Regions from separate parts of the Homo sapiens genome. Here region 1 is linked to region 2. The links are contacts of gene promoters, found by promoter capture Hi-C in blood cells and fetal thymus (Javierre and others, 2016). All regions are on one chromosome and are shown on one strand. The core of a region is centred on a gene start or on the middle of the fragment in contact, and the rest is flanking DNA. Distances in the headings are between cores, read along the strand shown. Region 1 overlaps GDE1 (glycerophosphodiester phosphodiesterase 1). Region 2 holds the start of RPS15A (ribosomal protein S15a).

The links. The method cuts DNA at HindIII sites, captures the fragments that hold promoters and counts their contacts. A CHiCAGO score of 5 or more calls a contact.
Region 1: a fragment that was not itself captured here is called in contact with the fragment with the promoter of RPS15A in region 2 in 2 of 17 cell types (neutrophils and fetal thymus); the score reaches 11.8 in neutrophils.

Annotation. Positions count from the first base shown.
Region 1 is chr16:19,505,842-19,510,342 of GRCh38, reverse strand. GDE1 (glycerophosphodiester phosphodiesterase 1) reads left to right here. Exons shown (of 6, transcript NM_016641.4): 4 at 2,564-2,656. Among named protein-coding and RNA genes, the nearest start is that of GDE1, 14 kb to the left of the region's middle. The HindIII fragment of the contact is 4,234 bases long and covers 1-4,190 here.
Region 2 is chr16:18,788,610-18,792,716 of GRCh38, reverse strand. RPS15A (ribosomal protein S15a) reads left to right here and starts at 2,383. Exons shown (of 5, transcript NM_001019.5): 1 at 2,383-2,473; 2 at 3,599-3,736. The coding sequence starts at 3,604. ARL6IP1 (ARL6 interacting reticulophagy regulator 1) reads left to right here. Exons shown (of 6, transcript NM_015161.3): 6 at 1-1,048. RefSeq lists enhancers at 2,146-2,775, 2,713-3,430. The HindIII fragment of the contact is 4,087 bases long and covers 600-4,107 here.

The sequences.
Region 1 (4,501 bases), core at 824-3,323, 720 kb before region 2:
TTTGTATAATTTATATCCCTTATGTATAGTTTTTTATTCATTGATTTTAGCAGTTATACTTTTATCAGAAAATCATTTATTTTCTTCAAATGTATTTGACATTCCTAGATAAAATTTTGCTTAAATTTTAGGGCCTGCACTTACACTCATAAGAACATATTATTACAGTGAAAATCAGTGGGAAGATATGATTCTGATTACATTTGTTCTCTTATAACCAGCTTTTCAAGTGCAAGTACTTTTTTCCCCATTTGGGCAACTTGAGTATTTTTCCCCTAGCAATATTAATAATCGGTAAGGGCCATCTACTGGTTGAGAATTCTGATGATGCCAATTTTTTTTTTTAATTAATCCCATGATATCATTGAAACCAGTTGTTAAAACCCAAAATGGGCCGGGTGCAGTGGCTCACACCTGTAATCCCAGCACTTTGGGAGTGGATCACCTGAGGTCAGGAGTTCGAGACCAGCCTGGCCAACATGGTGAAACCCCTGTCTCCACTAAAAATACAAAAATTAGCTGGACTTGGTGGCGGGCACCTGTAATCCCAGCTACTCGGGAGGCTGAGGCAGGAGAATCGCTTGAACCGGGGAGACAGAGGTTGCACTGAGCCGAGATTGCGCCAGTAGTACTCCAGCCTGGGTGACAGAGCGAGACTCCGTCTCAAAAAAAAAAAAAAAACCTGAAATGTGGAGCCTAAGTATACACTCTAATTTTATTAACAGTTAATTCCTATTTTTGAAGAAGGAAGATAATGGTAACTAATTTATTATTCTAGTAAACCGATAGTTGTATACGTCTAGGTTTTCCAATTGGTCTGCGTTAGAATCACCTGTACCTATTTTAAAATATAAATTCCTGGGCCATTCTCCCTAGGGAAGAGATTCTGAAAATGTCTAGGGTGGGCTCAAGGAACATGTATTTTTAATGAGCACCTCAGGTGCTCATTGTTGATGTTGCAGCCCACATTTGGGAACCCTGATAGGTCCTACATTTCACCCATGGTATACTGACTTTTATGCTTATTCTCTTAGATTTTTTGAGACAGAGTCTCACTCTGTCACCTAGGCTGGAGTGCATTGGCGCGATCTCGGCTCAATGCAACCTCTGCCTCCGGGGTTCAAGCAATTCTCCTGCCTCAGCCTCCCAAGCAGCTGAGATTAGAGGCATGTGCCATCACACCCGGCTAATTTTTGTATATTTAGTAGAGATGGGGTTTTGCCATGTTGGCCAGGCTGGTCTCAAACTCCTGGCCTCGAGTGATCCGCCCACCTTGGCCTCCCAAAGTGCTGGGATTACAGGTGTGAGCCACCACGCCTGGCTTCTCTTAGAATACTTTTTAAAAAGAAGTAGACATTTAAAAAAGAAAATCTAGCTATTTGAGTCTTCTGAATGGGTGCTCATGGGTGTTCAGCCAAGACTGGGTAGAACATAGTGACCTAATTCACCAAGATGGTAGTAGAAAGGCACAAGTGTAGGCAACAAAGTGGAGCTAGTAGAGCACAGTGGCCAAAATCATGGGCTTGGGACTCCAACAGTCCTTGACTGAGCTCTTACTACAGGGTAACCTTAACTTTGATGAGCTTCAGTTTCTTCATGGGTAAAATGGGGATACTAAAAGCAGTTACCACATAAGGTTGTTGTGAGAATTAAATAATGTAAATGCTAAGAGTTTACAGTGCATGTCTTTGTTCAAACAGAAAAAAAAATGCTTTCTATAGCTTGCCTTCAGTTGCATTAGCGAAGAGGAGGCATGACATGGATAATTTGTGTCCTTTTTTATTTTGGTGGGGGAATGCATTTTGCTCATCATATTTGGTTAGGGGTATGTGTAACATTCCAAAAATTAGCAGTGTTTCACAAATTATGCAGCAGCAGCATTGCGTCCCACATGGCTGGTGACTTTCTTGTTGTTAGCTGCTATTGATGTCACTTCACTAGGGGTTACCAAATAATACTTAAATTCTATCATGTCTTCTTCATTTCGTAGCTAGACTACTATAAAAAGAAACTTCTGTTCACCTTGGGAAGAATTGGGAGCCCCTTAACTCTTCCCAGTCCCTCCTACCCTTGCCCCATTACTTCTCCCTCCATATTGGTGATGGGTAATGCGTCCTCTCAGTCCCCTGGACTGAGAAATCTATCCTCTGTAGTTCCCAGACTGGCTGGCTCATGTTTCATTTAGAAAAGGCACAGAGTGATAGAGCTGTGGGTATGAAAGGACTTTTCATAGTGGCTAAACTAGGGTATAAGGCAAGGAAAATTTTGCCTCTGGCCTCATCTGACCTACGGCTTACCACACTTTTCAAAAGTATTCCAAAAGGGGTGAGGCCCTCAGAGGGAGTAAAGCAGCAGTACTCCACCTTCTTCCTTGTTTGCTGCTGGTGTGAGTTTAAAATGCATCCCAGTGGATAATAGACTCTACCAATACTTTCAGTACCTCCATTTCTAGTAAACTTCTGTTTTATTCCATAGGGTTGTACTTAATATGTGATAGTTATTGGCTGGGGCTATCTATCACATTTTAATCAATTTTAAATATATGAATCTCTTTATTTTACAGGCTACTGAGGCTCTAAAGAAAATGTATATGGAATTTCCTCAACTGTATAATAATAGTGTGGTCTGTTCTTTCTTGCCAGAAGTTATCTACAAGGTAACATTCGGGATTTTTCTTGTACATATTAGGTGAGCTGGTGTAGATAATTGCAATGGGCTGCGTAAGCACAGGATAGATGCCTATTAAATTGAACTGCATCAGGGTCACAGTTGAGAAGCTCCTCTTTTAAATTAACCAGAGAAATTCCAGAAGGGGAATGTACTCATACCCCTTACAGAATGCCATTATTCCTCTTTTGCCCCTTCTTTTATGTTGTTTATAGGCTCACTCAGATTACTGTAGTAAAATTCTCACAACAGAAAAGAATTATGTAGCCCCTACTTCTCACCAACTAACAGCAGAACATACCTTCATAAAATAAATTCTTAATTATGGAGAATCTAAAACATGCATAAAATAAAGTAGTAGTGTACCCCCCCTTTAACTGTGATCCAGCTCATTTCACCCATAACCCCATTGATCCTCCCCAGTGTTATTTTGAAGCAAATCTTATTCCATCCATAAAATTGCATTAAGAATCTTTAAAAAGTGATGCCATTTTATTTATTTATTTATTTATTTATTTATTTATTTATTTATTTTAAAAGACGGGTTCTCCCTCAGTTTCCCAGGCTGGAGTGCAGTGGTGTGATCACAGCTCACTGCACTCTTGACCTTCCAGGCTCAAATGATCCTCCTGCCTCAGCCTTCCAAGTAGCTGGGACCACAGGCGCACGTCACCACGCCCAGCTAATTTTTTATTTTTATTTTTTGTAGAGACAGGGTCTCCCTGTATTACCCAGGCAGTTCTCCAACTCCTAAGCTCAAGCAATCCTTCCACCTCAGCCTCTCAAAGTGCTGGGATTACAGGCATGAGCCACAGTAACCAGCCTAGTGATGCCTTTTTAAAAACATAGCCACAATGCCATTGTCCCATCTAAAAATTATTAACAATAAATTATTCATATCATCAAATATCCAGTGTATAAATTTTGACTTGTCTCGGAAATGTCATAAATGGTTGTTTTTCATAAATTGCTCATTCGAATAGGACCCAAGTAAGATCGGCGTGTTACAATCGTAAATCTTTTTTTGTTTGTTTTTGAGACGGAGTCTTGCTCTGTCGCCCAGTGGTATGATCTCGGCTCATCGCAACCTCTGCCTCCCGGGTTCAAGCAATTCTCTTGCCTCAGCCTCCTGAGTAGCTGGGATTACAAGCACACACCACCATGCCTGGCTAATTTTTTTTGTATTTTAGTAGAGACGGGGTTTTGCCATGTTGGCCAGGCTGGTCTCGAGCTCCTGACCTCAGGTGATCTGCCTGCCTCGGCCTCCCAAAATGATTACAGGTGTGAGCCACTATGCCCTGCCGGCAACTGTAAATCTTAAAACTTGCAGGTTCTGTCTCTCTCTCTCTCTGTTTTTTTTGTTTGTTTGTTTTGGGGGGGGTCCTTGTTTTGTATTTACTGAAGAAACCGGATTATTGTTTTGTAGAGTTTACCCAAGTCCAAATTTTGCTGATTATGCCATGATATGGCTTAATATTTTTTTCTCTTTATTTTCTATAAACTGGTAGCGAGAGCTGGAAGCTTGCCTTGATGAGGTTAGGGTTGGTTATTCTTGGCAAGATAACTCTAGAGATGAGGGTGTTTTTCCGTCAGGAGGCACTTGACATCTGGTTGACTCCTGTTGTTTTTGGCTGCTATTGATGCTCATTGGCCAGATCTGTCCATTTTCTAGGGAGCTACAAAATGCTGATATTTTAATTCTATTACTTCTTGCATTAGCTGAAATAGATCTTTAAAAAGAAACTTTTCCTCCTCTACTATTTAGTTACCAAATAGGCAGAATAAATGCTTTATCTTTCCTTTTATTTACCAGTTTCCAGAATAACAAGCTGGT
Region 2 (4,107 bases), core at 1,134-3,633:
AAATAAGATGAAACTGATTCCATGCACTAGTACATGTAGGCTTCTCCCTTGTGCAAAGCTTAGCAATTTGTAGGAAACTTTGATCTTTTTGTCCAAGAAAAGGAATGTCTGACAGGCTTAAGCTTTCGTCCCCTTGCACTTAGACTCGAAGTTAGTAAATCCTTAAAGGCTTTTTAATAGCAGACTTCCAAAAGATTGCATTTAGGATTTCTAGCATGCTTTTAATTTCAGATTTTCAGCTGACATTAGCTATAGTATACAGTAGGTTAAGACTCATGTCTATGACTTTCACTCTAAGACTGGCAAAAGGACAGCAGTCTTCTATGTTTAGTCAATATTCATTTCAGTAGAAGATAATCTTATCTAATTTTTGAGACCAGAATAAGCCTTTTAAGGTAAACCTCAAAATTATCATTTTATGGTAATACTGACCATTTTAGTCCCCTAGGTTTGACATGGGAGATAGTGACTACACTGGTGTCTGACTTTTTTCCTAGAGATTTCTCCCTGAAAAATACAAGGGCTGTTGGTGAGAGCAGACTTGAGGTGATGATAGTTGGCCTCTGGTCTACAAAGATTTCATAACTCCTTGGAAAGCTTCTTATAATCATTCTTAACTTCTTGGTAGCTAGAAATTTAGAGTAGTTGAAATCTTTAGGAATGAACTTCTGAGGGCCAAAAAATGTGACTGACGGGAACAATTCTTAAACTGATTAACTAGCTGTAATATAGTTTTGTGAATTTATTGCACTGATGTTGTACCTTGTGGTATATCTGTCCCTATTAAATAAGTGTTGTTTTCTCCTCTTTAATATTGCTGTGAACAGTGGTGCCCATTGTAGCATATGTTTGATTTTTTTTTATTATTTCATAAGAAAACTACGTTAATTTTACCTTACTTTCATTGTAAATAAGCCTGTCTTCCTATCTGGATTTTTTGTGTGCATACATATTCTACTGATTAACTACTTTTGCAGTTTTAATCCTGTATTATTTCTTCTACTTTGTTTTGTGTAAAAGGGGAAAAAATAAAAAAAGCTGGAATCTTCATGTCTCACTTTCTTTATAACTTAGCCAATATAATATTTATGATTGGATTTATGAATCTGATTAATGAAGTACCCTGTGTGGTCCTTAGATGTCTATAAGGTACCCTACCTGTAATCCCACCACTTTGGGAGACCTGGGCAGGAGGTTCACTGGAGTCCATGAGTTTGAGGTTGCATTGAGCTGAGTGTACCCCTGCACTCTAGCCTGGGCAACAGAGCAGGACCCTGTCTAGGAAAAATTTTAAAAAAGAACAAAAATAAAAGGTTTAAGTTTTATTTAGCAAATATCCAGGTACCATGCTAGAGGGAAGAGGAAATGCAACGAATGAGCAGGGGCATTGACGTGTGAGAGAGGACGAAGCTGGAAGAACCGGCAGGGACAGAACTGGCTAAATGGTGCCTGTGTGGGCACCTCGTACCCCAGGGCCTTGCTAGCGTCTGGTACATGGGTGCTCAGTAAACAACTGTTGGGTGACTTTTGTCTGAACTTAACTTTTTAATTAAAAAAAAATTTTTAGCCGGGTGTGGTGGCTCACGCCTGTAATCCCAACACTTTGGGAGGCCGAGGTGGGCAGATCACTTGATGTCAGGGGTTTGAGACGAGCCTGGCCAACATGGTGAAACCCCGTCTCTACTAAAAATACAAAAATTAGCCGGGTGTGATGGCGGGCGCCTGTAATCCCAGGTACTCTGGAGGCTGGGGCAGGAGAACCGCTTGAACCCGGGAGGCGGAGGCTGCAGTGCGCCAAGATCGCGCCACTGGACTCCAGCCTGGGCGACAGAGCGAGACTCCTTATCAAAAGTAAACTAAAATAAAAATTAAGGCCCGCGCGGTGGCTCCCGCCTGTAATCCCAGCACTTTCGGAGGCCGAGGCGGGCGGATCGCAAGGTCAGGAGATCAAGAACATCTTCGCCAACTTGGGGAAACCTCGTCTCTACTAAAAATACAAAAATTAGCCGGGCGTGGTGGCGCATCTCTGTAGTTCCAGCTACTCAGGAGGCTGAGGCAGGAGAATCACTTGAACCCGGGAGGCGCAGGTTGCAGTGAGCCGAGATCACGCCACTGCACTCCAGTCTGGGCTACAAGAGCGAAACTGTCTCAAAAAAAAAAAAAAAATGTAGACGAACCTCCAACGAACGGCTCACCTTGCCTCTCCCAGGCCCCACCGGGGGAGGTCGATTCCATCGACTCTCAACTGCCAACCCCTGAGGAGGCTCCGCCTTTCCCTCACCCTCGTCCTTCTCCTAGGCGGTCCTTGTTTTTGCCGGGCCTTTGAAAGTCTCGCGATAGCTCTCCCGCTTCCCATAACTCCGTGCGCTCTCCCCTCCCGTCCTCTTTCCGCCATCTTTCCGCGCCGGTGAGTAGCACTCTCTGAGAGCTCCAATTTCATCCGTCTGCCATCGGCGCCATCCTGCAATCTAAGGTTCGGTCTCGGTGTCCTGCGAGGAGGCTGGTCCCCACCTTGGCCGAGGATCCTGGCCTTGCCGGTTCCTGGACAGGCATAGAGGAGAGCCATGGCTGGGCGCCCCAGACTGTGCACTCAGGGGATCCCGGTCCGTGGGGTGCAGGCCGCAGCGCGGGCGGGAGCCGGAGCCTTCGACTGCCCAGCTAGGCGGTAGCTCCGGTTCGGGCCGCAGCGTCTGGATCTCCCTTTAGTGCTGAGGCAGCGCCTTGGCCCCGGGCGGCGGGCAACATCGGGGCTGGTGGGCCGTGCAGCTTCTCACTGCTGCGGCCGCGCTGGGAGCTTGGGAGGCTGAGGCCACCCAGCAGGTAAAAGCTGCATCGTGCCGGGGTTGGCAGTTTGCTGGGTGCCAACTTGGATCTTCTGGGCCGCAGAGTTTTTCTTTAGACACTTTTGAACTTAAGGAATTTAAGTTCTACTCTTTACTATTGGCACTTTGGTCTTTCAAAACTTCAGTGTAGTGTGCGGTTCTTGCCCATTAGAAGAGAGTCCAGTCTGACAAGCATGTAAAATGTTTCTGTTTGCCACTGTGGCTCTTGCTGTTGGACGCAATTTTAAATGGCACGAAGATGGATGTTTAATAGTTAGATGTGTTCATTGTAGGTGAGAGTGAACTGATTTAAAGTACAATGTTAATAGTATGGAATCTGCTGATTTTCAGCAATTTGGAAAATGTTGCCGATGATACTCTGCTTCTGTTCTGAATCACTGATCGACTATACCCGATGTTTTCCTTCCGGTAGCTGGCAGTTTCTGCCAGTTCTCACGTTGTCTTGTGTCAAGTGGATTTTGTCCCACATTTTATTATCTCCAGACGTTGGTGTGTGGCACGATTCGAAGAAGAGTGGTTAGTGAATGAATGAGTTTCAAAATGTGCAGGCTGACGTCCCGATAACCTGTTTTCAACAACCGTAGTAAATAGGAATTTTCCTGGGTGGTGGGAAATGGAGAAGCAGCCTGCTTAGACTTGAGAAAACTTCGCCAAGGTGGGGCCAGAAAGGAAAGGATACTTCCGCAGTGTAATGGTTGGTGTCTGTTGATGTTGGCAATGCCAGTAAAACCTCCTGTTTTGTCTTCCTTGAACAGCCACAATGGTGCGCATGAATGTCCTGGCAGATGCTCTCAAGAGTATCAACAATGCCGAAAAGAGAGGCAAACGCCAGGTGCTTATTAGGCCGTGCTCCAAAGTCATCGTCCGGTTTCTCACTGTGATGATGAAGCATGGTAAGTCTGCTGCCGCTGTGTTTTATGTTTTCATGTGAGACTCTCTAAGAAATCAGTCCTGTAGAAATTAATTATGGGGGACCAAAGTATGTCTGTCATACCTGAGAACGAATGCAATTGACCTGTGGGCTGTGGAGGAGGGGATAGTCTGAAACTGCTGAAGAGTCACTTAGAGTAGGACTGCTGGAAAAAGGAGCTCTGCTAGGTGTTTGGGAGCTAAATGAATCTAAGTCATTGAAAGGACTCCTGAGCTCATTTCGAGACCAGCCTGGCCAACATGGCAAAACCCCGTCTCTACTAAAAAAACAAAAAACAAAAACAAAAATCAGCCGGTCGTGGTGGCAGGCGCCTGTAGTCCCAGCTCTTTGGAG